4 separate regions of the Homo sapiens genome follow, and all the other regions are linked to region 4. Evidence: promoter capture Hi-C in 16 types of primary human blood cells and fetal thymus (Javierre and others, 2016). All regions are on one chromosome and are shown on one strand. The core of a region is centred on a gene start or on the middle of the fragment in contact, and the rest is flanking DNA. Distances in the headings are between cores, read along the strand shown.

Region 1 (6,866 bases), core at 2,988-5,487, 430 kb before region 4:
CCTCTCACATGGTTGACAGGTTTCACAGGGAAATGATTGTACTATCCCACTGTTTACTAATTCAGTCTGACTGTCATCCATGCTGATATGCTTTCATTTTGCTGTGATAGGGAGAGAATGCACATGTGCTTCTCGGAATTTGTGCTGTCACTGGAGCATTTATTTGAGTGTCTATAATGTATTCAGGGTTGTGCTAAAACCTGTCAGTAGAGAACAATAAGAAGAAGTCACAATCTAGTTGTGCTGAGATATATTCAGTTAGGTGAAAGAGGTGCTCTTCAAGCCATATGACTAGATGAGATCACCGGTGAATATGTACAGACAGGGGAGAAGAAAGTGAGGACCATCAAGTGATAGGAGACCAAAGAGTCTTGTCAAGGCATGCCAAGACAAGGTCCCTCATTCTCCAGTCAACATAGTGGAGAACGTACTTGCCTGACGCCAGCATGTGTGTGATGGTTTAGGACTCAGTGACCTTTGAGGATGTGGCTGTGGACTTCACCCAGGAGGAGTGGACTTTGCTGGATCAAACTCAGAGAAACTTATACAGAGATGTGATGCTGGAGAACTATAAGAATCTAGTTGCAGTAGGTAAGGCTGGTACCATTCTTTTCATTTAGTTTTTTTCTGGAACAAATGTGTCTTAAGTAACTATGTTCTAGACTCTGCTTGTTAATGGGCTGCATTGGTAAACAGGCGAAACATTGTTTCCATCTCATAGACCTTACTGCCTTGTGATTTTTCTGATGAAATTGAAGATCTGTTCATTGTTCTAGCTTTATTTTCTCCATGGATAAAAGACTTAGAGCTTCTTGAATATGTGTATGAGCTTAAGCCTGGGTTTCATGGGAAGGATTGCTAGTCCTTTTGGTGAACAGTGAATGAGAAAAGAGTATTTGAAGTTTAGGTTCACTTGAAAGTTTTTGTCATGAACATTGTGTTGTAATTTAAGTTATATCTGAGAGGGTTCAGAATGCCCAGACAGCAAAATCTTAGCTCTTAACATGGAAGCATTTGTTATCCCTTGCACATTCTTTACTTTTTTTTTTTTTTTTTTTGAGACAGAGTCTTGCTCTGTCACCCAGGCTGGAGTGCAGTGGCGTGATCTTGGCTCACTGCAAGCTCCGCCTCCCGGGTTCACACCAGTCTCCTGCCTCAGCCTCCCGAGTAGCTGGGACTACAGGCGCCCACCACCACGCCTGGCTATTTTTTTTTTTTTTTTTTTTTTTTTGTATTTTTAGTAGGAACAGGGTTTCACTGTGTTAGCCAGGATGGTCTCGATCTCTTGACCTTGTGATCCGCCCACCTCGGCCTCCCAAAGTGCTCGGATTACGGCATGAGCCACTGTGCCCAGCCATCCCTTGCACATTCTAACATCATTCATCTTTCCCTGAGACCAGGGTACTAGCTATGCAAACATAGTTTGACTTTTCAGGTGAAACAAGAAGAGTTAAAGACAGCGCAGAAAATTCTCCAAGATGAGAGAAAAGACAGATGTGATTATTTGTGAGAAACAGCCCTGATCTATGAGAGGTGCAGTCTGTTTATAAATATTAAGTAGGAAGGTTTTGAAAGTGTACTTTTTTGGGGAGAATATCAAGGCCAATTGGTTTCCAAGGTTCCTTGGGTACCTTAACTTCTCTTTCACTTTATCCATCTTGGAAACTTTCTTTTGCTCTGACATTAAGATCTGTCTCACTTCTCCTTTAAATTTATGATTTGCATTTAGCTCTGTATCCATTTCCTTTCAACTTTGTTTCCCTGGCTGTACCTCTTTTTTGTTCACTATAAAGTCTCAATGTTTAGAGAACCATTTCTTTTTTTTCTCTCTCTGTCTCTAAAAAAAAAAAAAAAAAAAAAAAAGAGTCTTGCTCTATCGCCAGGCTGAAATGCAGTGGCGCGATCTCAGCTCACTGCAACCTCTGCCTTCCGGGTTCAAGTGATTCCCCTGCCTCAGCCTCCTGAGTAGCTGGGACTACAGGTGCATGCCACCTTGCCTGGCTAATTTTTTTTTTTTTTTTGTATTTTAGTAAAGATGGGGTTTCACCATATTGGCCAGGACTCAATCTCCTGACCTTGTGATCCACCTGTCTTGGCCTCCCAAAGTGCTGGGATTACAGGTGTGAGCCACCACACCCAGCCTAGAGAACCGTTTCTTAGTGAATCACCTACCAACTTGACCTCAGTACCTTACTGTTGCTAGACTCTTACTACATCCAAATTTCTCAATTTATGTTTCCCGTTCTTTAAAAAAACAAACTATATTTCAAGCCAGTGTTTGAAACTACAGTACATACTAGTCTTGCATTTTTAACACCCTTTTTAAAATCATTATTTCTCTAAGAACTTAAAATTTTTTTCATCTTATTTCAGATTGGGAGAGTCATATTAATACCAAATGGTCAGCACCTCAGCAGAATTTTTTGCAGGGGAAAACATCCAGTGTGGTGGAAATGGTAAGATTCAGAAGGTATAATTTATTGTCTTCCATGTTAGAGGAAGATTGGAAATTCCTTAAAATGGAAAAGCAGCACAATAACCTTGAGACATTTGAGACTAGTGTTTTTCACCCAAAAATAATCTGTCTCTTGGAGAGACTATGGATCATGAGTTTGACAAACACTCTAAACATCCCTCAGAATATATTTGTTTACATATTTCCTTCAACATTCCCATATGTATCTCAGATGTTTTTGATAAATAATTCACTCTTGGGCCGTTATCAGCTAAGCTCTATTTAGAAGCCCTCTGAAAGTAAAGAATATAACAGAACTTCCTGCAGTCACTTTGTTCCACTTGAAAACACTCAGGTCTGAACCATGCCTTGCAATGAAAATGGCAGGAACAAACAGTTTCAATTATACTAACTTATTTTCCATGTGTAACAGAATTCAGAGTAAAAGGGAGAATCTCAATGAAATAAATTTGGAAAACTTCTATGAACCATCATTAATTTTCACCAACAGGAGAGAAACCATTTTGGAGAGGAACTGTTTGACTTTAACCAATGTGAAAAAGCCTTGAGTGAACACTCATGCCTTAAGACTCACAGGAGAACTTACTTTAGAAAGAAAACCTGTGAGTGTAATCAATGTGAAAAAGCCTTCAGAAAACCCTCTATCTTTACTTTACACAAGAAAACTGATATCGGAGAGGAACTTCCTAACTGTAATCAATGTGAAACAGCCTTCAGCCAACATCTACATCTTGTTTGCAAGAAAACTAGCCAAAATCTACATCTTGTTTGCAAGAAAACTCACACTCAAGAGAAACCATATAAATGCAGTGACTGTGAAAAAGGCTTACCTTCCTCCTCACACCTCAGAGAATGTGTAAGAATTTATGGTGGAGAGAGACCATATACTCATAAGGAGTATGTCGAAACCTTTTCTCATTCTACAGCCCTTTTTGTACACATGCAAACTCAAGATGGAGAAAAATTCTATGAATGTAAAGCATGTGGGAAACCCTTCACTGAGTCGTCATATCTTACTCAACATTTAAGAACTCATAGTAGAGTGTTACCTATAGAACATAAGAAATTTGGCAAAGCCTTTGCTTTTTCCCCAGATCTTGCTAAACATATAAGACTTAGAACTAGAGGAAAACACTATGTTTGTAATGAATGTGGCAAAGAATTTACTTGTTTCTCAAAACTCAACATTCACATAAGGGTTCACACTGGAGAAAAACCGTATGAGTGCAACAAATGTGGGAAAGCCTTCACTGATTCATCAGGTCTTATAAAACACAGGCGAACTCACACTGGAGAAAAGCCTTATGAATGTAAGGAATGTGGGAAAGCTTTTGCTAACTCTTCACATCTTACTGTACATATGAGAACTCACACTGGTGAGAAGCCTTATCAATGTAAGGAATGTGGAAAAGCCTTTATTAATTCCTCTTCCTTTAAAAGTCACATGCAGACTCATCCTGGTGTAAAACCCTATGACTGTCAACAGTGTGGGAAAGCCTTCATTCGATCCTCATTTCTTATTCGACATTTGAGAAGTCACAGTGCAGAAAGGCCTTTTGAATGTGAGGAATGTGGGAAAGCCTTTAGATACTCCTCGCACCTTAGTCAACATAAAAGAATACATACAGGGGAGAGGCCATATAAATGTCAAAAGTGTGGGCAAGCCTTCAGTATCTCATCAGGCCTTACAGTACACATGAGAACTCACACTGGTGAACGGCCCTTTGAATGTCAGGAATGTGGGAAAGCCTTTACTCGGTCCACATATCTTATTCGACATCTAAGAAGTCATAGTGTGGAGAAACCATATAAGGAATGTGGGCAAACCTTTAGTAATTCCTCATGCCTTACTGAATGTGTGTGAATTGGGGCTGATACTTGGAAAGAATGTGGTAAAGCCACTACTTCCTCACACTTACTGAACATGTACTCATTCATAGTGGCAATGTACACAGTCATAAGGAATGTGGGAAGCCTTCCTTGGTGTCTCAGATCTTAACAATTCCAATAGAAGAGAAGACATATGAATGTAAGGAATGTGGGAAAATCTTGGCTCCTTCCATAGGCCTTACTATTCATGTGTCTGTGCATCCTAGGAAACAAACTGAACGTAGGAAACCTGTCGATGCTTACATCTTACTGAGTCTGTTTGAACTCATGCTGGAGAGAAATGCTATGAATGTGAGGAAGGTGGAAAAGCTTTCATTATTTTCCTCGGGCCTTACTGAGCTTGTGAGCACATTGGATATAAATGCACGTCCTCTGGCTGTAAGGAATGTGTTGAAACCTTTCACTCTGCCTTATACCTTAATATTCAGCTGTGATCTCACAAGTGTGAAAAATCTTATGAATGTAAAATGTGTGGAGATTCTTCTTTGTTTTTAGCTTCCACTTTGGGAACATGTCAAAGCACACATTGAGAAGTCCCATGAGTGAAAGAGATGTTGGAAAGCCCTTGAACTTGGTCGTTAGGAAACATCCACACTGAAGAGGAACCTGACTGTATGGAAGGTCAAAAAGGCTGTATTAATTTACATGCAAAAAGTCACACTAGAGGAATGCCATATCAGAATGCTTTTGGTAAATATACATGTTTTAAAGAGGTTATATATCATTAATAAAAATATCTAGCTGGTCTGAAGATCCTGAGTTATCTCAATTGTTCACGGTTACAGATGGAACTCTTTATTATTGAGGAGTTCCACTCTTTCCCCCATTTGTCACTACTACACTTCCCTAGTCTTTAAAACAATTTTAGGCTGGGTGCAGTGGCTCATTCCTGTAATCCCAGCACTTTGAAAGGCCGAAGCGAGTGGATCATTTGAGGTCAGGAGTTCGAGACCAGCCTGGCCAACGTGGTGAAACCCCATCTCTACTAAAAATACAAAAATTAGCCAGGCATGGTGGTACGTGCCTGTAATCCCAGCTACTCGAGAGGTTGAGGCAGAATTGCTTGAACCCGGGAGGCGGAAGCTGCAGTGAGCTCAGATCACGCCACTGCACTCCAGCCTGGATGATATGGTAAGACCATCTCAAAAAAAGAAAAAAAAATTAAAATATCCTCAGAGGGTTTTTTAATGAAAAACTTAGTTATAGGGAATTGAGGAACATTTAGGGGTACAAATTTTCACTTATTGCACACAAGAAAATTGGTACTGGCCAGGCATGCTGGCTCACACCTTAATTCCAGCAATTTGGGAGGCCAAGGCAGAAGGATCACTTGAGCCCAGGAGTTCAAGACCAGCCTGGGCAATATAGTGAAACCTCATCTTGACAAAGAATAAATAAGATTAACTGGGTGTACTGGTTTGTGCCTATAGTCCCAGCTATTTAGGAGGCTGGGGCAAGAGGATTGCTTGAGCCTGGTCAGGGAGGCAGAGGTTGCAGTGAGCCCTGATCGTGCCACTACACTCTAGCCTGGGCAACAGGATGAGACCCTGTCTCAAAAAAAAAAGAAAATTGACGCCAGCAAAGAAAACCAAATAAATTATTTAAGTTTGCCTTTCTATATGTCTTTAAAGACTAATGATATTGAACATCACTTTCATATGCTTATGAGTCTTTGGTGAAGTGTACATTTAATGATCTTTTTTCACTGTTGCTGAGAATCTTTGGTTTGAATTATTGAGGCAGGTTCTTTCAGTAAGTTTGAGATATAATTGCCATGTAATAAACTGCACATGTTTTTAGCATACACTTTAAGTTTGGACACATACACATATGTGTACATACACACCATCAAGATAATGAACATACCTATCAAACCAGATGGTTTCCTCATGCCCTTTTATAATTTCTTCTTCTCCTCACCCTTCCCTGCCTGTCACTCTCCTGATCCACTGATTTGCTTTCTCTTAGAATAGACGACTTTATATTATGTACAGTTTTTATATAAATGGAATCATATAGTCTGGCATCTTTCAGGATAATTTTTTCAGATCCATTTATGTTGTAGGGTCCATTTCACTGCTGAATAGTATTCCATTGCAAGGCATACCACAAGCTATTTATCCATGTGTTATTTCTACCTTTTGGCTATTGCAATTAAAACTGCCTTGAATACCCATATGCAGATTATTCTTTAAACATGTGCTTCTGTTTCTTTAAATAGTTAAGAGTGGAATGATCAGATCATATGTTAGTGTACGTTTAAGTTTTTAAGAGACTGCTAAACCTTTCTCAAGTAGTTATGCCATTTGACATTTCCATGAGCAGTATATAAGAGTTGCAATTCTTCTGCATCCTTGCCAATTATTGGTATGGTCAGTCTTTTTTATTTTGACCATTTTAATAGGTGTGTAGTAGTATCTCATGGTTTTAATTTGCATTTCCCTAGTGACTAATGATGTCTTACATGGTTTCACGTGCTTACTGGCCTTCTTTAAGCCTT
Region 2 (7,973 bases), core at 5,147-7,646, 320 kb before region 4:
ATAGTAATTAGTTGTGTTGAAAACATTCCTGATAATAAGCCATTCTTGCAATCCTAAAGTAAAACTGTTCATAGGGCACTATTTTTTCTCATAACTGGATTAGTTTTGCTAGAAATTTTATTTAGAAGATTTGCATACAGATGAGTTTTCTTTAAAATATCATTACCTAGGACTAATTTAATCTTACTAAGTACCACTAAATCTTGTCTTATCATATTTGAGTAGATGCATTCACTTATTTGATTCTTACAGTACCAAATCAGGCAGCTTATTATAAAATTCATCCACAGTTTACAGAAGATCAGACTGAGATGGCCAGGCGTGGTGGCTCACGCCTGTAATCCCAGCACTTTGGGAGGCCGAGGCAGACAGATCACGAGGTCAGGAGATCGAGACCATCCTGGCTAACACGGTGAAACCCCGTCTCTACTAAAAATACAAAAAATTAGCCGGGCACGGTGGCGGGCGCCGTAGTCCCAGCTACTCAGGAGGCTGAGGCAGGAGAATGGCGCGAACCCGGGAGGCGGAGCTTGCAGTGAGCCAAGATCAGCCACTGCACCCCAGCCTGGGCAAAAGAGCCAGACTCTGTCTCAAAAAAAAAAAAAAGGAAGATCAGACTGAGGCAAGAGAGGCCATTTAACTTCTACAAAATTACGTAGCCAGCAAGAGGCAGAGCCAAGACGTGTACTCTAGCAGTCTGACTCTATTCTGTACTTCACTTTGCTCTATAACCAGTACAGCTTTAAAAGTTTCCTCACCTTTTCAAATGTGTTGACCTCTGTGAAATGCTCTGAGATATTTCTTTTCTTTTCTTTTTTTTTTTTTTTTTTTGAGACAGAGTCTACTCCATCACCAAAGCTGGAGTGGCACAATTTCAGCTCAATGCAACCTCCGCCTCCTGGGTTCAAGTGATTACTGTGCCTCAGCCTCCCAAGTAACTGGAATTACAGGCGTGCATCACCATGCAGGGCTAATTTTTGTATTTTTAGTGGAGACAGGGTTTCACCATGTTGCCCAGGCTGGTCTCTAACTCCTGAACTCAAAGTGATCCGCTTGCCTCAGCCTCCCAATGTGCTGGGATTATAGACATAAGCCACCATACCTGGCCTGAGATATTTATTTTCATGCCCACCTGGCTGAAATTAGTATATATTTGGAGGACCAACTCCCCTTACCTAAAATTAATGTTTCAGTATTTCAACCCCTATCCTTTTCTCTTGTTTTCTCTTCATTAAGAGAAAAGTCTCAGCCACATGTGTGGCTCACGCCTGTAATCCCATCACTTTGGGAGGCCAAGGCAGGTGGATCACGAGGTCAGGAGATCGAGACCATCCTGGCTAACACGGTGAAACCCCGTCTCTACTAAAAATACAAAAAATTAGCCGGGTGTGGTGGCACACGCCTGTAATCCCAGCTACTTGGGAAGCTGAGGCAGGAGAATCGCGTGAACCCAGGAGGTGGAGGCTGCAGTGAGCTGAGACTGTGCCACTGCACTCCAGCCTGGGCAACAGGGCGAGACTCTCAAAAAAAAAAAAAAAAAGGAGATATAAGTCCCTTAAGGAGGCCAGGCGCAGTGGCTCATGCCTGTAATCCCAGCACTTTGGGAGGCTGAGGCAGGCAGATCACAAGGTCAGGAGATCGAGACCATCCTGGCTAAGACGGTGAAACCCCATCTCTACTAAAAATACAAAAAAAAACTTAGTCGGGCGTGTTGGTGGGTGCCTGTAGTCCCAGCTACTCGGAAGGCTGAGGCAGGAGAATGGTGTGAACCCGGGAGGCAGAGCTTGCAGTGAGCCGAGATTGCGCCACTGAACTCCAGCCTGGGAGACAGAACAAGACTCCGTCTCAAAAAAAAAAAAAAAAAAAAAAAAGTCCCTTAAGGAGACCACAAGGATATGAAAGAGGCATGTGAATCCAGGCCTACGCACAGTTCCACTACATGAATACATGGAAGCCATTCCACATTTTGAATCACCATGCACACACACAGAGAAACGCGCAGAATCACCATGCACACACACAGAGAAACGCGCACACACACACAGTTCCTGTGCGTGCAGATGGTGTGACCTGGGAGCTTGAGCAGCTGGCTGCACGCAGGTAACAAACAAACTAAGAGGGCAGAAGTCTAAGAAAGTATTTCACATAGCCATCCAAAGAAACTTTAAGGTGTTCCTTTTCTCTCAGCCCTTAAAAAATGTCATTTAATTTGCTCTTTGCCTTTATGGTGGTGTGTTTTTTTGTTTTTTTGTTTTTTGTTTTTTGAGACAGAGGCTCACTCTGTCACCCAGGCTGGAGTGCAGTGGCGTGATCTCGGCTCACTGTAACCTCCACCTCCCAGGTTCAAGTGATTCTTGTGCCCAGCCTCCCCAGTAGCTAGTATTATAGATGTGTGCCACCACGCCCAGCTCATTTTTGTATTTTTAGTAGAGACAGGGTTTTGCCATATTGGCCAGGCTGGTCTTGAATTCCTGACTTCAAGTGATCTGCCCACCTCAGCCTCCAAAAGTGCTGGGATTACAGATGTGAGCCATTGGTGGGTTTTTTTGCTTGTTGTTTTGAGACAGGGTCTTGCTGTCACCCAGGCTGGATGACAGTGATGTAATCATAGCTCACTGCAGCCTTGAACTCCAGGGCTCAAGTGATCCACCTTGGCCTCCCAAAGTGCTGGCATTACAGGGCATGAGTAACCATGCCCAGGCCTTTATAGTTTCTATAAGAAATCCACAGTCGGCCAGGAGTGGTGGCTCATGCCTATAATCCCAGGCCAAGGCGGATTGATTATGAGGCCAGGAGTTCGAGACCAGCCTGGCGAACATAGTGAAACCCTGTCTTTACTAAAAATACAAAAAATTATATGGGTGCGGTGGCAGGCACCTGAATCCCAGCTACTCGGGGGGCTGAGGCAGGAGAATCGCTTGAATCCGGGAGGTGGAGGTTGCAGTGAACCGAGATTGTGCTATTGCACTGCAGCCTGGAGTGTGAGACTCCATCTCAGAAAGAAAGAAAGAGAGAAGGGGGGGAGAAGAAAGAAAGAAACAAAGAGAAAAGAACGAGGAAAGAAAAAGAAAGAGAAGAAGGAAGGGAAGAAAGGAAAGAGAAAAGAAAAAAAAAAAGGAAGGAGAAGGAAGGGAGAAAGGAAGGAAGGAAAAAAGAAAGAAGAGAAGAGAGAGGGAAAGGAGGAAAGGAAAGGAGGGGAAAGAAGGGAGGGAAGGAAAAAGAAATCCACAGTCAACTGAACTGTTCTTTTATTTATTTACTTTGAGACAGGGTCTCAAAGTACTACAGGCACATGCAACCACACCCAGCTAATTTTTTTGTAGGGGTGGGATTTTTCCATGTTGCCTAGACGGGTCTCGAACTCCTGGGCTCAAGTGATCTGCCTGCCTTACCCTCCCAAAGTATTGTTGGGATTTATAGGCATGAGCCACGAAATGTTCTCTTATAAGTAACATGTTATTACTTCCCAGGCTAATTTCAAGATGTTCTACTTATCTTTAGCTTTCACAACTTTAATTATTATATGTTTTGGCTTATATTTCTTTGGGGTTATGTTTTGGGTTCATTAAATTTCTTGAATCTGAATATTTGTGTCTTTCATCAAATTTGAGAAGTTTTTCATCATTACCTTTTCAAAAACTTACTGCATCACACATCTTCTTCTTCTTTTAGGACTCTAATATCATGAATGTTAGCCTTTTGTACTGTTACACAGCCCTGTGAGGCTCTGCTGCTAGTATGCTGAATAGTTTGGGTTTATATTCAGGGCACTTTGAATATTATAACACTCTGGGCCTTTAAGTCCTATGGAGAACGTAGATTTTTTTTTTTTTTTTTTGGATGGAGTCTAGCTCTGTCGCCAGGCTGGAGTGCAGTGGTGTGATCGTGGCTCACTGCAACCTCCGCCTCCCGATTCAACCGATTCTCCTGCCTCAGCCTCCTTAGTAGCTGGGATTACAGGCATGTACTGCCACGCCCAGCTGATTTTTGTATTTTTAGTAGAGACGGGGTTTGACCATGTTGGCCAGGATGGTCTCGATCTCTTGACCTCGTGGTCCACTCGCCTCGGCCTCCCAAAGTGCAGGGATTAAAGGCATGAGCCACTGCACTCAGCTGATTTTTTTTTTTAATCTGGACAATTACCCAGTTGGGTTCAGCTTGCAAGTTTTAGTCAACGCTCTGAGTTGTGGTTTCAATGAGAGCTTTATTTTCAAAGATTTTGTTGTATGCTTTGTGTCTCTACCTGGAGGCTAGACTACACAGAAGGTCATCTATCTCACATTCCAGCTCTCAAAGTCTATGGTATGTCTCATTGCCACCACAGGATTGCTTGGAGGCTGGAACCAAGTAAATGGAGAAAACAAACTGAGGTATTAATCTCCCTCTCTTTCTCACTGAGCATTAGAAACCACCCCTCCCACCCCCTTGTTGATATTACCAGAACCAGAGGGCTTCTTCTGGAACTCTCCATGTTGGTCATGATGTGTGCCTCTGGTTTTTCAGCCACACTGAGTACAGACCAGATGAAACCAGAAGGGGTAAAACTAGTAAACTTACTGCCTGCTTGGTGGTACTTTGAACGCTGATTTTTTTTTCCATCTCCCTGCTGCTATTTACTTTTCAGATTCTTCAAATAGCTGATGCATTCTGTCCAGGTGGGACATTCAGTGGGACAGACAGGATAACTGCATTTACTCCACCTTTCCCTAAACCAGAACCAATTTTGCCAAGTCATACACACACACACACACACACACACACACACACACACACACACATAAAATATAGGATGCATTCTCTTGTTACTTCTGGTTTCTTTCACAACATCATGTTTGTGAGATTCATCCACGTTAGGGGGTTTACCTGTATAGTAGGCAGAATTCTGAGATGGTGCTTATGAGTCCTGCACTCTGGTATGCCTTGGTATAATCCCCTCCTGTTGAGTGTTGGTAGGATAAACAGTTTCCTCCTAATCAAGAAAATATAGCAAAAGTGATGCAATGTCAGTCAACTGTATTACATTATGTGGCAACAATGAAGGAATTTTCCAGATACAATTCAAGTCCCTATTCAGTCGATTACACATTACACAAAGCGAATAATCTCCTAGAATATTCCTAGGAGAACTTGATTTACTTATAGTATAGAGATATCTAGAGATATTCACCTGACAAAATTAGATGAGTCCCTTCAAAGGGGATTTGGATATCAGTGACTAAAAAATAGCAGACAGCTGGATGCCATGGCTCACACTTGCACTTTGGGAGGCCGAGGTGGGCAGATCACAAGGTCAGGAGTTCGAGACCAGCCTGGCCAATATGGTGAAACCCCATCTCTAGATAAAAATACAAAAATTAGCTGGGCATGGTGGCGCGTGCCTATAGTCCCAGCTACTCGAGAGGCTGAGGCAGGAGAATCGCTTGAACCTGGGAGGCGGAGGTTGCAGTGGGCCAAGATCACGCCACTGCATTCCAGCCAGGGCAACAGAGCGAGACTCCGTCACAAAAAAAAAAAAAAAAAAAATAGACATACTCTCTGTTGCTGGCATTGACAAAATAAGCTGTAAGGAATTCTACAGCCATAACAAAATTAATTCTACCAACAATCTGACACAGATTAGAAGCACATTCTTCTATATTTTAGCCCCAACCCTCTCCAGATGAGAAGGAAACTGTAAGAATTCTGCCACCATGAAAAAGCTGAATGTTGTGACACCACCAAAGGGTCACTCTCACTCTACAGCAATGGTCCCTTTCCAAAATGGAGGCACAGAGATGACAGGTGGAGAATTCAAAGCTTGGCCTACAGGGAAGCTCAGCTAGATCCAAGACAAGATTGAAAATCAACACAAACATAAAGCAATCAACAAAATAAGAAATAAACATCTTAAGAAGTAATTAATCAAAGCTACAGGAACTGAAAACCTCACTTAAGGAATTTTAAAATAAAATTGAAAGCTTCATCAACAGACTACACCAAGCAGAAGAATTTCAGAGCTTGAAGACTGGTCTTTCAACTAACCCAGTCAGACAAACACAAAGAAAAAAATGTAAGGAACAAAGTCCCCAAGAAATATGGGATGATGTAAAGTGATCAAATTTACAAATAACTGGCATTCCAGGGAGAGAAAGAGAAAAAGTAAGCAACCTGGAAACCATACTTGAGAGAATAATTTAAGAAAATTTCCCTAATTGTGCTAGAGAGGTAGCCATCCATATGTAAGAAATCCAGACAACACCTGCCAGATACTACATAAAATGAACACCACGAAGACATACAGTCACCAGCCTAAGGTCAACGCTAGAGAAAAAAGCTTAAAGGCAGCTAGAGGAAATGGCACATCAGGTACAAAGGGAATCTCGTCATCAGGCTAATAGCAGACTCCTCAGGAGAAACCCTACAAGCCAGAAAAGACTGGGGGCCTATTTTCATCATTCTTGAAGAGGAAACTCAAACCAAGAATTTCAAACCTGACCAAACTAAGCTTCATAAGAGTAGAATAAACATTTCTAGAGACAAGCAATCACTAAGGGATTTCATTACCAGTAGACCAGCCTTACAATAAATCCTTAATGGAGTTTTTGTGTGTGCGTGTGGCGGGGGGTTTGTTTGTTTGTTTTTCAGACATTTCACTCTTGTTGCCCAGGCTGGAGTGCAATGACACGATCTTGGCTCATGGTAACCTCTGCCTCCTGGGTTCAAGTGATTCTCCTGCCTCAGCCTCCGGAGTAGCTGGGATTACAGGCATGCACCACCATGCCTGGCTTTTTTTTTTTTTTTTTTTTAGTGGAGACAGGGTTTCTCCATGTTGGTCAGGCTGGTCTTGAACTCCTGACCTGAGGTGTCCACCCTCCTCAGCCTCCCAAAGTGCTGAGATTACAAGCATGAGCCACCTCACTTGGCCCCTTAACGGAGTTCTAAACATGAAGACGAAAGAATGATACCTGCTACCACAAAACAACCAAACCTAAGTACGCAGCCCACAGACCTTTTGAAGCAAAAACAAAATAGAAACTATAAAACAACCACCTAACAGCTTCATAATAGGATCAGATCCTCACATATCAATATTAGCCTTGAATGTAAATGGTCTTACCACCCCATTTAAAAGGGACAGAGTGGCAATCTGGATAAAAACGACAAGTACTATCCTTCTGAGACCTATCTCACACATATGAGACACCCATGGACTCAAAAAGTGGGAGAAAGAGCTATCATGCAAATGCAAAACAAAAAAGAGCACGGATCATTATTCTTTTGTTGGATAAAATAGACTTTAAACCAACAACAGGAAAAAAGGACAAAGAGCACTATATAATGATAAAGGGTTCAATCCAACAAGATGACTTAACCTTCAACATTGGAGCATTCGCATTCATAAAACAAGTACTTCTAGACCTACAAACAGACAGCCAAACAAGAATAGTGGCAGACTTCAACACCCCACTGGCAGTGTTAGATCACTGAGGCAGAAAACTAACAAATTCTGGACTTCAATTTGAAACTTCACCAATTGGACTTAATAGATATCCACAGAACATTCTACCCATCAACCACAAAATACATATTCTTCTCGTCTGCACACAGAACACTCAAAGACCACATTCTCAGCCATAAAGCAAGTCTCAATAAATTCATTCAAAATTTGAAAATCATACCAACCATACTCTCAGACCACAGTGAAATAGAAATAAAAATAAAGATCAATACCAAGATCTGTCAAAATCACACAATTACATGGAAATTGAACAACTTGCTTCTGAATGACTTTTGGGTAAACAGCTAAATTAAGGTGGAAATTTAAAAATTCTTTGAAATTAATGAAGGCAAAAAAACAAGATACCAAAATCTCTGGGATGCAGCTAAAGCAGGGTTAAGAGAAATGTTTAGAGTGCTAAAACACCTACAGCAAAAACTTAGAAAGTCAGCACCATATGAAGTGAAAAAAACAAAAAAGGAACATACCTCAAAAT
Region 3 (7,426 bases), core at 4,712-7,211, 390 kb before region 4:
ACAGTCTAAACCTAATCAATATTGTGAGTCCCCAGTGGAAGAATACAAGGAACATACTACTCAATCACCTCCTTCCCAATTTATATATTATTTAGTATTAGGATTGAGCTTATTTTTCCATGTCACGAATTTGGTATTATTACCATTTTATATAATAAAGGTTTGCTTAATTTTATCCATTTTACCTTTGTTCATTCTACTTAACATTTTGGGTCTTCCAGTTCCTATCTCCTGAAGTACTTTTAAGTTACTTCTGTGATGGTCTTTTTGGATGGGTAAGTTGTCTCAGGTCTTTATTTTAAAATGCCTTTATTTGACTCTCCATTTATTTTTCTTAAGCTTTTAATCATGAAAATTTTTAATTCTCCACAAAAGTAGAATAGTACAGTTGTCTCTCATATCCATGGGGGACTGGTTCCAGGACCCCCACATGGCTTCCAAATTCCACAGTCACAAATTCCTTATATAAAATAGCATTGTATTTGCATAGAACCTACACACATCCTCCCATAGATGCTATTTTTTCCCTCCCATTTACTTTAAGTCATCACTAGATTACTTACAGTACCTAGTACAATAAGTGTTATGTAAGTGGTTGGTTTGTTTTTTTTTTGTTTTTTTTTTAAGAGATGGGGTCTCATTCTGTTGCTCAGGCTGGAGTACAGTGGTGTGATCATAGCTCACTGCAGCCTGAAACTCCTGGACTCAAGTAATCCTCCCACCTCAGCCTCCCTAGTAGCTGGGACCACAGGCATGCGCCACCACGCCTGGATAATTTAAAATAGATACATATTTTTGTAGAGACAGGGTGCTGCTTTATTGCCCAGGCTAGTCTCAAACTCCTGGCTTCAAGGCATCCTCCTGCCCCAGCTTTCCAAAGTGCTGGGATTACTGGTGTGAGCCACTGTGCCGGGCCATAAATAGTTATGCTGTATTGTTTAAGGAATAATGACAAGGGGGAAGGTCTACATGTTCAGTACAGACACAAGCATTCATCTTTTTTCCACATATTTTTGATCTGTGGTCGAGTAGCCAACAGATACAGAGGGCTGACTGTATAATGAATTCTCATGTCCTTAACACCCAGCTTTGACAGTTACCAATATTTTGCACATCTTGCATCATCTAGCGCTGAGCTGTCCAATACAGTAGCCACTAGCCTCATGTGGCTATTGAAGTTTAAATGCTCATTTCAAGTATTCAGTAGCTATCCGTACATGATTAGTGGTTACTGTATTAGATACTGCAAATAAATATTGAATAATGCTGGGTTTTCCCCCCAGATTTGTTTTTAAAGCAAATTCCAGACATCCTGTCATTTCATCAGTATATTACTAACTGTGCATCTCTAGTTGGTTCATCACCACTACTCCATTATCCCACCTAACAAAGTCTGACGTTCCCTGATTGGCTACAGAATATCTTTTTACATTTGGTTTGTTCAAATGAGAATCTTAACAGGGTCCCAACATTTTTTTTTTATTTTAGACCCCTTAAGTTTCTATTGTGTCTGTTCTCTTCCTCCTCCCTTTTCATTTTTTTAATCCACTGATTTATTGAAGAAATAAAGTTATTTGTTCTTAAAATGTCCCACATCATATATGGATTTTGCTGACTGGTTTGTTTTCATTGCTTAACCTGGTTATCTTTGTATTTCTTATAAAGAGTAGTTAGATAGTTTGTCTAGCGTTTTAGGTTGATAAGTTATTTTTTTCTCAGCATACTGAAGACATTGTCCTGCTTTCTTCTGACGTCCATTGTTGCTGTTGAGATGTCAGCTATCAGTCTGTTTTTCCTTTTATAGGTGACCTGTGTTTTTCCCCTGGCTGCTTTGGAAATTATGGGAAAAAATCAAATACCAAGGAAGAAAAATCTATAATGAAATTAGATGTGGATTTCTTTTTATGTATTCAGCTTGGGGGCTTATGATACTTCTAGTACCCAAAGGTTAGTGTCTTTCACTAATTCAAGAAAATTGCTAGGTTTTCATCTAATAGTGCGATCAAAGTTCTGATCTGGTAGTTAATACTGGCACTGAATTTCTCATTTCAGTGAGTTTATTTTTCATTTCTAAAAATTGTTTTTTAAACTAACCATTTTATAGTATCTTAATCTATATCCATTCAAATTTTTATTAAGCTTTTATATATTTTAAAATATATCTAAAAGGGTAATATCCAAAGTGTTATGCTTTTTACCACCTGACACCTGTGTGTTAGCTATGTCTTACACATGGTACATTGTGTATTTGTGTTTCACAATTTCTTAAACTGTGCCTTCCTCAATTTACTTAGAACTTTGTATATAAGATTTTTTCTCAAGACCTGACTTAAAGTTGATTTTCCAGAGATAGGTCGATTTGCTTGCACTAGTTGCTTGGGGACAATGCCACTTAGGACCCTCTTTAAGTGAAATTATTCCCTTGAGGTTGTTTGAACTACAGAAATGAATTTGGACTGAAATCTAAAAGAGAGCACTTGTGTATACAGATCCTCAAGAGAGATTTGCTTTTTATTATACCTGATGGGTACAGTTCCTTGCTTCACGCTTTCATATGGAAATTTTACTTTCTTTTTAAAAAACTGTTCACTGTGGATTTTCAGTCATACCTAGGAATAGAGTGCTATAAAGCCACTATGTACCTACCACCCAGCTTCAATGATTGTCACCATTTTGCCATTCTTATTACATCTGTTCTCTCCCTTGCTTCCTTTCATCATTGAGCTTTCTTTTCCTTTTTTTTTTTTTTTTTTTTTTTTGAGATGGAGTCTTGCTCTGTCTCCCAGGCTGAGGTGCAGTGGCATGACCTCAGCTCACTGCAACTTCTGCCTCCCAGGTTCAAGCAATTCTCCTGCCTCCCCTCCCGAGTAGCTGGGATTACAGGCACCTGCCACCACACCTGGCTAATTTTTGTATTTTTAATAGAGAAAGGGTTTCACCATGTTGTTCAGGCTGGTCTTGAACCTCCTGACCTCAAGCAATCCACCCACCTTGGCCTCCCAAAGTGCTGAGATGACAGGCGTGAGCCACCACACCCTGCCAGTTTTGTTTTTCTGAAGCATGGTTTTCCAGCTTTCTTGAGGTATAATTGACAAATAATAAAAATTATATATGTTTAAGGTGTACAACATAATGTTTTGATCTACCTGTCCATTCTGAAATGATCATCACAGTCAAGCTAATTAACATATCCATCCCCTCACTTACTTTTGTAAGATGCACTCTCTTGGAAAATTTCAAATATACAGTACATCATTAACTATAGTCACCAAGCCATACATCAGGTCTCCAAAACTCAGCCATCTTATAACAGCAAATACATACCCATTGACCAACATCTCCCCATTTCCCTTGCCCCTTGGTAATCACCTTTCTAATGCTTCTAGGAGTTTGACTTTTCTAGATTCCATGTAAGTGAGGTCATGCGGTATTTGTCTATGTCCGCCTTATTTTACTTAGCATGATGTTCTCCAGGTTTCCTTCTTTTTTAAGACTGAATAACCCACTGTGTGTATATATATGACATTTTCTTTACGCATTCAGCAATCGACAAACACGTTGTTTCCATATAGCAGCTATTATAAATAATGCTGCAATGAATATGAGGTCACAGATACCTCTTTAAGATATTGATTTCACTTCCTTTGGTTATATACCCAGTAGCAGGATTGCTAGATCATATGGTAGTTCTATTTTTAATATTTTGAGGCACCTCCACTACTGCTTTCCATAATGGCTGTACCAATTTTCACTTCTAACAACGATGTATAAGGGTTCCCTTTCTCCACATCCAACACTTGTTATCCTTTGACTTTTTGATAATATCTATTATAACAAGTGTGAGGTAGCAGCCAACTATGGTTTTGATTGGTACGTCCCTAATAATGTGATGTTGGGCACTTTTTCATATACCTACTGGCCATTTTTATTTCTTCTTTGGAAAACTGTCTATTTAGATCCTTTACCCATTTTTTATTCCATTTTTTTCTATCGAACTGTATGTATTTCGTAAATATTTTAAATATTGTGCAGATTCTTTCTCCCATTCCATAAGGTTGCTTTTTCATTTTGTTCATTATTTCCTTTGCTGTGCAGAAACTTTTTAGTTTGATGTAGTTTCACTTATTTTTGCCTTTCTTGCCTGTGCTTTTGGTGTCAACTCTTTAAAAAAAAAATTTGTCAAAATTAATATCAAAGAGCTTTTCCCCTGTTCTAGAAGTTTTATGATCTCAGGTCTTACATTTAAGTCTTTAATCCATTTTGAGTTGATTTTTGTTTGTAGTTTAAGGATCTAATTTCACTTTTTCACATGTGGATATCTAGTTTTCCTTACACCATTTGCCGAAGAGACTGTCCTCTCCCCATTGCTTATTCTTGGCATCTTTGTCCAAGATTAGTTGACCATACATGCCAGGGTTTATTTCTGGGCTTCCTATTCTGTTACATTTGTCTCCGTTTTTATGCCAGTACCATACTATTTTCATTACAGTACCTTTGTAATATATTTGAAATAAGGAAGTGTGATGCCTCCAGTATTGTTCAAGATTGCTTTAGCTATTTGGAGTTTTTGTGTTTCCATATGAATTTTAGGATTGTTTTTTCTATTTCTGTAAAAAATATCATTGGAATTTCATAGGAATTGCATTAATTTGTAGATCACCTTTCATAGTGTGACATTTGACAATATTGATTCTTCCAATCCATGAACACTGGGTGGCTTCCCATTTGTTTGTGTCTTCTACTTTCACCAGTGTTTTAGAATTTTCAGTGTTGAGATCATCTCCTTGGTTAAATTTATTGTCAGTATTTTACTCTTTTTGATATTATTATAAGTGAAATTATTTTCATAGTTTTTTTTAGATAGTTTGTTAGAAATACATTTAATTTTTGTATGTTGATTTTTTTTTACCCTGCATTACTGAATTTACATGTTAGTTTTAACATTTTTTCATGGTGTCTTTAGGGTTTTCTAGATACAATATCATGTCATCTACAAACATAATTTTACTTCTTTTCCAACGTAGACGCCTTTTGTTTTCTTGCGTAATTGTTCTGGCTAGAACTTCAGTTGTATGTTGAATAGAAGTGGTGAGGATGGGCATCTTTGCCTTGTTCCCAATCTTAGAGGAAAAGCTTTCAATTTTTTATAATTGGCTGTAAGCTGTGGTTTTGTCACCTATGGCCTTTACTGGTGTTGAAGTACTTTCCTTCTGTAACTAATTCGTTGAGGGTTTTTATCACAGAAGAATGCTGAATTTTACCAAGTGCTTTTTCTTCATCTATTCTAATGATGATATAGTTTTTATCCTTCATTCTGTTGATGTGATGTATCACATTGATTTTGCGTATCTTGAACTATCCTTGAATTTCTGGGATAAATCTCACTTGATCATGGTGTATGGTCCTTTTAAGGTACTGTTGAATTTGGTTTGCTAGTATTTTATTGAGGAGTTTTGCATCTATTTTCAGTAGGGATATTGGCTTGTAGTTTTTTGCTCTTACAGTGTTTGTCTGGCTTTGGTATCAGTGTAATGCTGACCTCATAAAATGAGTTTAATGAGGAGTTTGGTTGGGCTCCTTTTCCATTTTTTTGGAAGAGTTTGAGAAGGATTCTTTAAATGTTTGGTAGAATTCAACGGTGAAGCCACCAAGTCCTGGGCTTTTCTTTGATGGAAGATTTTTCCTCACTGATTTAATCTCCTTACTCATTATTGATCTTGTCAGGTTTTCTATTTATGATTCAGTCTTAGCAGGTTATATATTTCTAGGAATTTATTCATTTCTTCTAGGTTATCCAATTTTTTGGCATATAATTTTTCATTATGGTCTCATGATCCTTTATATTTCTGTGGTTATCAGTTGTAATGCCTTCTCTTTCATTTCTAGTTTTACTTCAGTCTTGTCTATTTTAATCTTAAGTAGTCTGGCTAAAGGTTTTTGTTGGTTTATCTTTTCATACAACCAACATTCAGTTTCATCGATCTTTTCTATTGTCTTCCTAGTCTCTCATTTATTTCTGCTGCGATCTTTATTATTATTTCCTTCCTTGTACTGACTTTGGGCTTAGTTTCTTTTTCCTTCTACTGACTTTGGGCTTAGCTGCTGCTTTTTCTAGTAACTTGAGGTGTAACATTAAGCTGGTATAAGATCTTTCCTACTCACCCTTGCTCTCTTTGGTTTCCATTTACGTGGAATGTCTTTTCCCATCTTTTTACTTTCGGGCTACATGCATTCTTAAAGCTATAGTGAGCTTCTTGTAGGCAGCATATACCTTAGGTCTTTCTTTTTTAATCCAGTCAGCCACTATGTGTTTTGACTAGAGAACTTAATCCATTTACTTTTTTGTTTAAGGAGATAGGGTCTCTGTCACCCAGGCTGGAGTGCAGTGGCATGATCATACTCCCACTACTCTCAGATTCAAGCAATCCTCCCACCCTAGCCCACCAAGTAGCTGGGACTACTGGCAGATGCCACCACACCCAAATAATTTTTTTAAATTGTTTTCTGTAGAGATGCGGTCTTGCTGTGTTGCCTAGGCTGGTCTCAAACTCCTGCTCTCAAGTGATCCTCCTGCCTCAGCCTCCTGAGTACATTTATATTTAAAGTAATTATTGATGGGTAAGTACTTACTGTTGCCTTTTTGTTCATTCTTCTGTGGCTGTTGTACAGATGTTTTGTTGCTTTCTTCCTCCCTTGTCTTCCTTTGTGATTTGATGACTTTCTGTAGTGATACGCTTTGATTTCTTTCTCTTTTCTCCATAATATAGGTTCTTGCTTTGTGGCTACTATGAAGCTTAAAACATCCTGTAGTTTTAATAGTCTGTTTTAAGCTGTTAACAGCTTAGCTTTGATTGCATACAAACAATTTATACTCTTCCATTTCCCACATTTTATGTTTTTGATGTCACAATTTACATCTTTCTATATTGTATATTAACAAATTATTATAACTTTTTAATATTTTTATCTTTTAATCTTTTACACTAGAGATAAGTTATTTAGATACCACTGTTACAGTATTAGGGTAATCTGGATTGAGTATATAATTACCTTTACCCCAGTGGGTTTTATAATTTCATATGGTTTCATGTTACTAAGTGTCCTTTCTTTTAAGCTGAAGAATTTACTATTTCCTATAAATCAGCTCCATTACTGATGAAGCCCCTCATCTTTTGTTTGTCCAAGGAAGTTTTTATCTCTCCTTCATTTCTGAAGGCCATTTTTGGCAGGTAAAACATTCTTGGTTGGCAGTACAGTCATGCACTGTGTAAAGACATTTTGGTCAGTGATGGTCCACATATGTGACAGTGCTCTCATAACATTTTAATAGTGCTAAAAAATTCCAATCACCTAATGACATAGCCAGTGTAACATTGTAAAGCACATTACTCACATGTCTGTCATTTAAACCTGCTGCACTGCCAGT
Region 4 (7,707 bases), core at 1,462-3,961:
TTTTGTGTCTGGCTTCTTTCAGTCAGCATTATGCTGGTGAGGTGCACCCAAGTTGTTGTGTTCATCCACCTGTGATTTGGTTCATATCTTTGCTGAAGAATATGCCACAGAGGCTGGGCATGGTGGCTCACGCCTGTAATCCCGGCACTTTGGGAGGCCGAGGTGGGCAGATCGCTTGAGGTCAGCAGTTCAAGATCAGCCTGGTCAACATGGTGAAACCCCATCTCTACTAAAAATACAAAGAAAAATGGGTGGCTCACACCTGTAATCCCAGCTACTCGGGAGGCTAAGGCAAGAGAATCACTTGAACCAGGAAGACAGAAATTACAGTGAGCCAAGATTGCGCCACTGCACTCCAGCCTGGTGACAGAGCAAGACTCTGTCACAAAAAAAAAAAAAAAAAGCCACAGAAATATGCCACAATTCACCCATTCTGTGGATCCACATTTGGGTTGTTCCTAATTTAGGCTATTTCAAATAATGTGATAAATAACTTTTACATTTAGCCTGGCACACGTATGCATGTTGCATCACCAAGTCCATATTTAGTTGTCACTGTTTTAAAATGTAGCTGGGCATGGTGGCTCACGCCTGTAATCCCAGCACTTTGGGAGGCCGAGGTGAGTGGATCACAAGGTCAAGAGATGGAGACCATCCTGGCCAACATGGTGAAACCCATCCTGGCCAACATGGTGAAACCCCATCTCTACTAAAAATACAAAAATTAGCTGGGCATGGTGGCATGCACCTGTAGTTCCAGCTACTCGGGAGGCCAAGGCAGGAGAAGCACTTGAACCCGGGAGGTGGAGGTTGCAGTGAGCCGAGATCATGCCACTGCACTCCAGCCTGGCAACAGAGCAAGACTCTGTCTCAAAAAAAAAAAAAAAAAAGTGTTCTCTTCAGCAATGCATGCACATCTTAAAGAAGACTTGATATTGTCACTGACTTTAGTTATGCTTTTATTTATTTATTTTTTTTTTTGTAGAGATGGGGTCTCACTATGTTGTCCCAGCTTGTCTCAAACTCATAGCTTCAGTGGCTCCTCCTGCTTCTGCTTCCCAAAGTGCTGGGATTACAGGGGTGAGCCACTGTGCCCGGCCTAGTTTTATTTATTTATTTATTTATTTAGACGGTGTTTTGCTCTTGTTGCCCAGGCTGTAGTGCATTGCCACGATCTCAGCTCACCACAACCTCTGCCTCCCGGGTTCAAGCGATTCTCCTGCCTCAGCCTCCCGAGTAGCTAAGATTACAGGCATGCCCCACCACACCTGGCTAATTTTGTATTTTTAGTAGAGACAGGGTTTCTCCATGTTGGTCGGGCTGGTCTGGAACTCCCAACCTCAGGTGAACCGCCCACCTCGGCCTCCCAAAGTGCCAGGATTACAGGTGTTTAAGTTACCGCACCCGGCCAATACACATTGATCTACACAAGAGATGCAAAGAAACAGAAAACATGCAAAATATTAACAAATGATCAGTCTACAACAAGGATATATAATAGGTGTTCAATATTCTGGCCTTTCACATTTTCTTTGGTTTAGAATATTCAATCTACAGATAGCCTGGGCAACAAACCAAGACCCTGTCTTTAAAACGTAAATAAATAAATAAAAATATATGAGGGGGAAGGCCAGGCGCGGTGGCTTATACCTGTAATTCCAGCACTTTGGGAGTCCGAGGAGGGTGGATCACGAGGTCAGGAGTTCGAGACCAGCCCAACCAACATGGTGAAACCCCGTCTCTACTAAAAATGCAAAATTAGCCGGGCGTGGTGGCACATGCCTGTAATCCCAGTTACTCAGCATGCTGAGGCAGGAGAATCGCTTGGACCGGGAGACAGAGTTTACAGTGAGCCTATATCACGCCATTGCACTCCAGCCTGGGCAATAAGAGCGAAACTCCGTCTCAAAATATGTATATATACGAGAGGAAAAACGCTGAATCAAAACATGTCTCTTTCACAGTTAATACAACTGTAATTTCTGATACTGGTATAATGAAGGCGGCATCCTACTTCCTGGAAGCCCCTCCGTTTTGAAGCTCTTTGGGAGGTACTGACCTAGGAAGTTCAGCTGCTTTTGATCTCAAAAACACAGCGGAGTATTGCTACTTTGCTTTATAACTGTGGCAATATTTGCTTTTATTTCTATAAACCTACAACTCCTGCACACTTGACAAAGCATTTAACTGCTGAGCAATTTCGCAAACTTCAATAAGCGATGCCCTCCCACAGCCAGATCATCTCCTCCGTCCAGGGCTCACCGGAACGCACTGCAATCGCCCTGTCGGTGACAAGAGGACGCTGGGGCCCTTTTCCACAACAGCTGAGATGCTTTTCCTTCTGGAGAAAGGACACAAAGGTTGACTGGCTGCTTTTAAACAGAGGGGCACGGTGGTTGGAGAAAAAAACACGTCTCCACCGGGGACCCTGGGCCAGGCCCAGACTGATGCGGGCGCAGCGGGAAGAGGCGCTCAGAAGAGAAGGCGGGAACCCCCCGCCTCGGGGTCCTGGCGGGGAGGAGGCGCCGCTTCTCCGGAGCAGCAGCGGGAGGCCGGCGCGTCTCAGACCTAGCAGAAGTCCGGAGCGTCACCCTCCGACCCTCGCTCCGCCTCCCGCTAGGCCCTCCTGCCCCGCCCTGCCTAGGTTGAGCATGAGCGCTGGCTGAGGTGAAAACCCAGCTAGGAAGCTGCTGGAGAGCGGGGAATACGTATAGCTGCGCGCCGGCTGGCACTTCCGCTTCCGGTTGCGCACGGCATTAAGTGTAGGGGCCGAGCCCCAAGAGCTTTGGAATGAGGATGATGTGAAGCTGAGAGAAGAGCTGGGGCCACCTCTTCGACACGCGTACAGAAAAGTCCCGTTTTCTCGCATCCCAGGTGGACCAGGATCCAGATCAATCTGTCGATATTGGGAACGACGCCGGACCAGGAAACCCAGCGCCAAGGGCCGGGTTGGAGGCGGGGACTGGCGCAGCGGGCGGGGCACGCGTGGAGGCGTCACCTAAGGCTTCGATTGCAGACAGCGGGATGCTCATCGAGTGCTTTTCTTTTCTTTTTTAATTTCTCTTTTTAGTTTTTTGAGATAAGGCTCCGGTCTGTCGCCTAGGCTGGAGTGCAGTGGCTCGGTCATAGATCATTGCAGCCTGGAATTCCTGCGCTGAAGCTATCCTCCCGCCTCGGCCTCCGGAGTAGCTTGGACCACAGTTGGGCCCATCACGCCCAGCTAAGTTATCTTTTTCTAGACACTTGGGTCTCACTGTGTTCCCTAGGCTGGTCTCGAACTCCTGAGCCTAAAGGATCCTCCCCCCTCGGCCTCCCAAGCAGCTTGGACCACAGGTGTGTGCCACCACGCCTGGCTAATTTATTTTTATTTTATTTTTATTTTTTTGTAGAGACAGGGTCTCTCTTTGTTACCCAGGCTGATCTGGAACTCCTGGGCTCCAGTGATCCTTCCACCTTGGCCTCCCAAAGTGCTGGGATTATAGGCGTGAGCCACCACCCTAGGGAAATTCTTTTCTGCAGGATTTTCTCCTTGTTTCTTCAACCCTCTGCAGGGATATAAACATATTTACAAAGATAATCCCGCTGTAGTCCTAGCTACTGCGGGAGAATCGCTTGAGCCCAGGAGTTCGAGACCAGCGACACCCTGTTTGAAAGATTAACCTGATGGGGCTGGGGGCAGTGGCTCACGCCTGTAATCCCAGCACTTTGGGAAGCCGAGGCGGGTGGAACACGTGAGTTCAGGAGTTCGAGACCAGCCTGGCCAACATGCCGAAACCCCATCTCTACTAAAAATATTTTTTAAAAAATAGCCGGGTGTGGTGGTGGGCGCCTGTAATCCCAGCTACTCGAGAGGCTGAGGCAGGAGAATTGCTTGAACCTAGGAGACTGAGGTTGCAGTGAGCTGATACGATGCCACAGTACTCCAGCCTGGGCGACAGAGTGAGACTCCGTCTCAAAAAAAAAAAAAAAAAGATTAACCTGTTAATCCATAAAATGCTCTGTGCCTCTGATACATTCAGTTCCTTCTTTAGGCCTTTAGTTTTGTTGTGATACAATTATCATAGCATACAATTAACCTGTTTAAAGTGTACAGTTTCGTGGCTTTTTGTATATTCATATATTTGTGCATCGATCATCACAATCAATTTTAGAACATTTTCATGACCACAAAAATAAACCCAGTACCCTAGCCATGATCACCCAATCTGCTCATCCAGCCCCACCCCCACCCCCAGAGTCCAAAGCAACAGCTAATCTTTCTGTCTGTATAGATTGCCTACTGTAGATATTGCCTGTAGAATTAGAATATAAAACACGTGGTGTTTGGCTTGTTTCATTCAATGTTTTCAAGGTTCATCCAATTAGCATGTATCAGTACTTAATTTTTTTTTACTAAATAAGATTCCATTGTATGGCTGTATCATAACATCAGTTGTTGGATATTGGGTTTTCTCTTTTTTTTTTTTTTTTGGCTTTTTTGGATAATACAAGACGCATTTTAAGCAGTGGTCAAAGGAACATTCATATTCCTAAACACTTTTGTCAATAAAAATAAGAATAGCTGGGTGCAGTGGCTCACACCTGTAATCCCAGCATTTTGGGAGGCCGAGGCAGGCGGATCACCTGAGGACAGGAGTTTAAGACCAGCCTGGCCAACATGGTGAAACACGGTCTCTACTAAAAAATACAAAAACCAGCAGGGCGTGGTGGTGCGCACCTGTAATCCCAGCTTCTCGGGAGGCTGAGGCAGGAGAATCACTTGAACCTGGGAGGCGGAGGTTGCAGTGAGCTGAGATGGCGCCACGGCACTTCAGCCTGGGCAACTGAGCACAACTGTCTCAAAAAAATAAAAAATAAAAAATAAATCCCCAGCTCAAAAAATAAAACCTAGAAAAAGAATATAAATGTAAACCAAAATGGAAAAAGGTTTATTTATTTATTTATTTTTTATTTCAATAGCCTTTGGGAAACAGGTGGTTTTGGGTTACATGGATAAGTTCTTTAGTGGTGATTTCTGGGATTTTGGTGCACCCATCATCCGAGCAGTGTACAATGTACCCAATGTGTAGTTTTTTATCCACTTTTATCCCTCACCCTTCTCCCACCCTTCCCCCAGAGTCCCCAAAGTGCATTCTTTCTTTCTATCCTTTTTTGTTTTGTTTTGTTTTTTCTTTTTGAGATGGAGTCTCATTCTGTTGCCCAGGCTGGAGTGTAGTGACATGATCTTGGCAACCTCCGCCTCCCAGGTTCAAGCAGTTCTCTTGCCTCAGCCTCCTGAGTAAGTGAGATTACAGACATGCGCCACCATGCTTGGCTAATTTTTGTATTTTTAGTAGAGATGGGGTTTTCCCACGTTGGCCAGGCTGGTCTTGAACTGCTGGCCTCAAGTGATCCACCCACTTCGGCCTCCCAAAGTGCTGGGATAACAGGCGTGAGCCACTGCGCCCACCCAAAGTTCATTATATCATTCTTATGCCTTTGCATCCTCATAGCTTAGTTCCCACTTATAAGTGAGAACATATATATGGTTTTCCATTCCTGAGTTACTTCACTTAGAATAATAGTCTCTATCCAGGTTGCTCAGAATGCTATGACTTTCTTGCTTTTTATAGCTGAGTGGTATTCTGTGGTGTATATATACCACATTTTTGTTATCCCCTTATTAGTTGATGGGCATTGAGACTGGTTCCATATTTTTACAGTTGCAAATTGTGGGCTGTAAACATGTGTGTGCAAGTGTCCTTTTTTTTTTTCTTTTTTGAGATGGAGTCTCCACTCTGCTGCCAGGCTGGAGTGCAGTGGCCTATCTTGGCTCACTGCAACCTCCGCCTCCTGGGTTCAAATGATTCTCCTGCCTCAGCCTCCCAAGTAGCTGAGACTACAGGTGCACACCACCATGCCCAGCTAATTTTTGTATTTTTAGTAGAGACGAGGTTTCACCGTGTTGGTCAGGATGGTCTCGGTCTCTTGACCTCGTGATCCACCCACCTCAGCCTCCCAAACTGCTGGGAATACAGGTGTGAGCCACCATGCCCAGCCTGTTTCAGACATTTTTAAGACTATGTCCCATTCATTTAAAATACTATTTTTCCCCATTGAATTGTTTTGACACCTTTGTCAACCATCATTAGACTGTAAATGTGAGCTTAGATGTTTTAAATGGAGAATTATACCAAACCTTCCAAGTTCAAATATTCCCAGTGCTCCATAACTTAAGAACAATGAAAATGAAGAAATACTTCCTAATTCCTTTTATGAAGAAAGTATAACATTGATATAAAATGTGGTAGAGGCTGGGCATGGAGGCTCACACCTGTAATCCCAGCACTTTGGGAGGCCGAGGTGAGTGGGTCACCTGAGGTCAGGAGTTTGATACTGGCCTGGCAAACATGATGAAACCCTGTCTCTACTAAAAATACAAAAATCAGCCAGGTGTGGTGGCACGCACCTGTAATCACAGCTACTTAGGAGGCTGAGGCAGGAGAATCGCTTGAACCCAGGAGGCAGAGGTTGCAGTGAGCTGAGATCATACCGTTGCACTCCAGTGGTGACAGAGCAAGACTCCGTCTCAGAAAAAAAAAAAAAGTGGTAGAGTACAAAAAATGAAAAATTGCAGAACCATATCAATTATGAATATGGATTCAAATATGCTGTTAGCTATTAGCAAATAAAATACAAGACCACATTAAGAAAATAACTATCCCCACATGAAATTTAGCATAAAACAGCAGTATTAGTGCAGTTATTAGAAAATCCATTAAATAGTCCAGGTGCAGTGCCTTATGCCTGTAATATCAGCACTTTGGGAGGCTGAGGTGGAGGTTGCATTGCCCAAGCTCATGAGTTCCAGACCAGCCTGGGCAACATGTTGAAACCCCATCTCTACAAAAAAGACAAAAATTAGTCGTGTGTGATCTCAGCTACTCAGGATGAAGTGGGAGGATTGCTTGAACCCAGGAAGTGGAGGCTGCAGTGAACTAAAACCGACCATGCCCCTGCACTCTAGCCTGGGTGATAGAGCCAGACCTTGTCTAAAGAAAAGAAAAGAAAAAAAATCCATTAAATAATGCACCATAAAAATACATCTACAAGAACAAGTCATGTGACTTTCTCCATAGATGCTGATGAAGCCTTTGGAAAAAATTCAACACTCATTTATTATTATTGTTATTATTATTGTTGTTTGAGATAGGGTCTTCCTATGTTGTGCAGGCTGGATCAAACTCCTGGGCTCAAGGGATCCTCCTTCCTCAGCCTCCTGAGTAGCTGGGGCTATAGGCGTGCAACACCACACCCAGTGCAATGTCCCTTATTGATATCAGCACTCCAGAAAAATAGAAATTAGTGAATACTTTCTTAAGATGATTGCCTGTACCTATAGCTGAGTGTGTGTGTGTGTCTGTGTGTGTGTGTACTGGAAGCATTAGCTAATACAATTCAGTAAGAAAAATTAATTTTGAAACATAGAATTGCAGCTGGGCACGGTGGCTCACACCTGTAATCCCAGCAATTTGGGAGGCCAAGGTGGGAGGATCACCTGAGGTCAGGAGCTTGAGACCAGCCTGGCCAACATGGTGAAATCCCGTCTCTATTAAAAATACAAAAATTAGCCAGACATGGTGGCATGCTCCTGTAATCCCAACTACTCAGGAGGCTGAGGCAGGAGAATCACTTGAACCCGGTAGGTGGAGGTTGCAGTGAGCCGAG

The links. The method cuts DNA at HindIII sites, captures the fragments that hold promoters and counts their contacts. A CHiCAGO score of 5 or more calls a contact.
Region 1: a contact is called between a fragment that was not itself captured here and the fragment with the promoter of ZNF846 in region 4, in 1 of 17 cell types (naive CD8 T cells). The highest score is 5.0, in naive CD8 T cells.
Region 2: a fragment that was not itself captured here is called in contact with the fragment with the promoter of ZNF846 in region 4 in 1 of 17 cell types (naive B cells); the score reaches 5.5 in naive B cells.
Region 3: a fragment that was not itself captured here is called in contact with the fragment with the promoter of ZNF846 in region 4 in 1 of 17 cell types (naive B cells); the score reaches 5.6 in naive B cells.

The regions. Positions count from the first base shown.
Region 1 is chr19:9,338,729-9,345,594 of GRCh38, forward strand. ZNF559 (zinc finger protein 559) reads left to right here. Exons shown (of 7, transcript NM_032497.3): 5 at 465-591; 6 at 2,374-2,456; 7 at 2,967-6,866. The coding sequence ends at 4,340. ZNF559-ZNF177 (ZNF559-ZNF177 readthrough) reads left to right here. Exons shown (of 13, transcript NM_001384659.1): 5 at 465-591; 6 at 2,374-2,456. Among named protein-coding and RNA genes, the nearest start is that of ZNF559-ZNF177, 18 kb to the left of the region's middle. The HindIII fragment of the contact is 871 bases long and covers 3,803-4,673 here.
Region 2 is chr19:9,441,631-9,449,603 of GRCh38, forward strand. The region is part of intron 1 of LOC105372269 (a long non-coding RNA gene); the gene reads left to right. It also overlaps a transcript of ZNF560 not described here. Among named protein-coding and RNA genes, the nearest start is that of ZNF266, 10 kb to the left of the region's middle. The HindIII fragment of the contact is 171 bases long and covers 6,312-6,482 here.
Region 3 is chr19:9,369,806-9,377,231 of GRCh38, forward strand. It overlaps ZNF559-ZNF177 (ZNF559-ZNF177 readthrough), which reads left to right. Exons shown (of 13, transcript NM_001384659.1): 8 at 6,511-6,618. ZNF177 (zinc finger protein 177) reads left to right here. Exons shown (of 8, transcript NM_001172651.2): 3 at 6,511-6,618. Among named protein-coding and RNA genes, the nearest start is that of ZNF177, 11 kb to the left of the region's middle. The HindIII fragment of the contact is 1,660 bases long and covers 5,132-6,791 here.
Region 4 is chr19:9,766,027-9,773,733 of GRCh38, forward strand. It overlaps ZNF846 (zinc finger protein 846), which reads right to left and starts at 2,712. Exons shown (of 6, transcript NM_001077624.3): 1 at 2,263-2,712. RefSeq lists a silencer at 2,527-2,696 and enhancers at 2,640-3,505, 2,777-2,996. The HindIII fragment of the contact is 9,482 bases long and covers 1-7,707 here.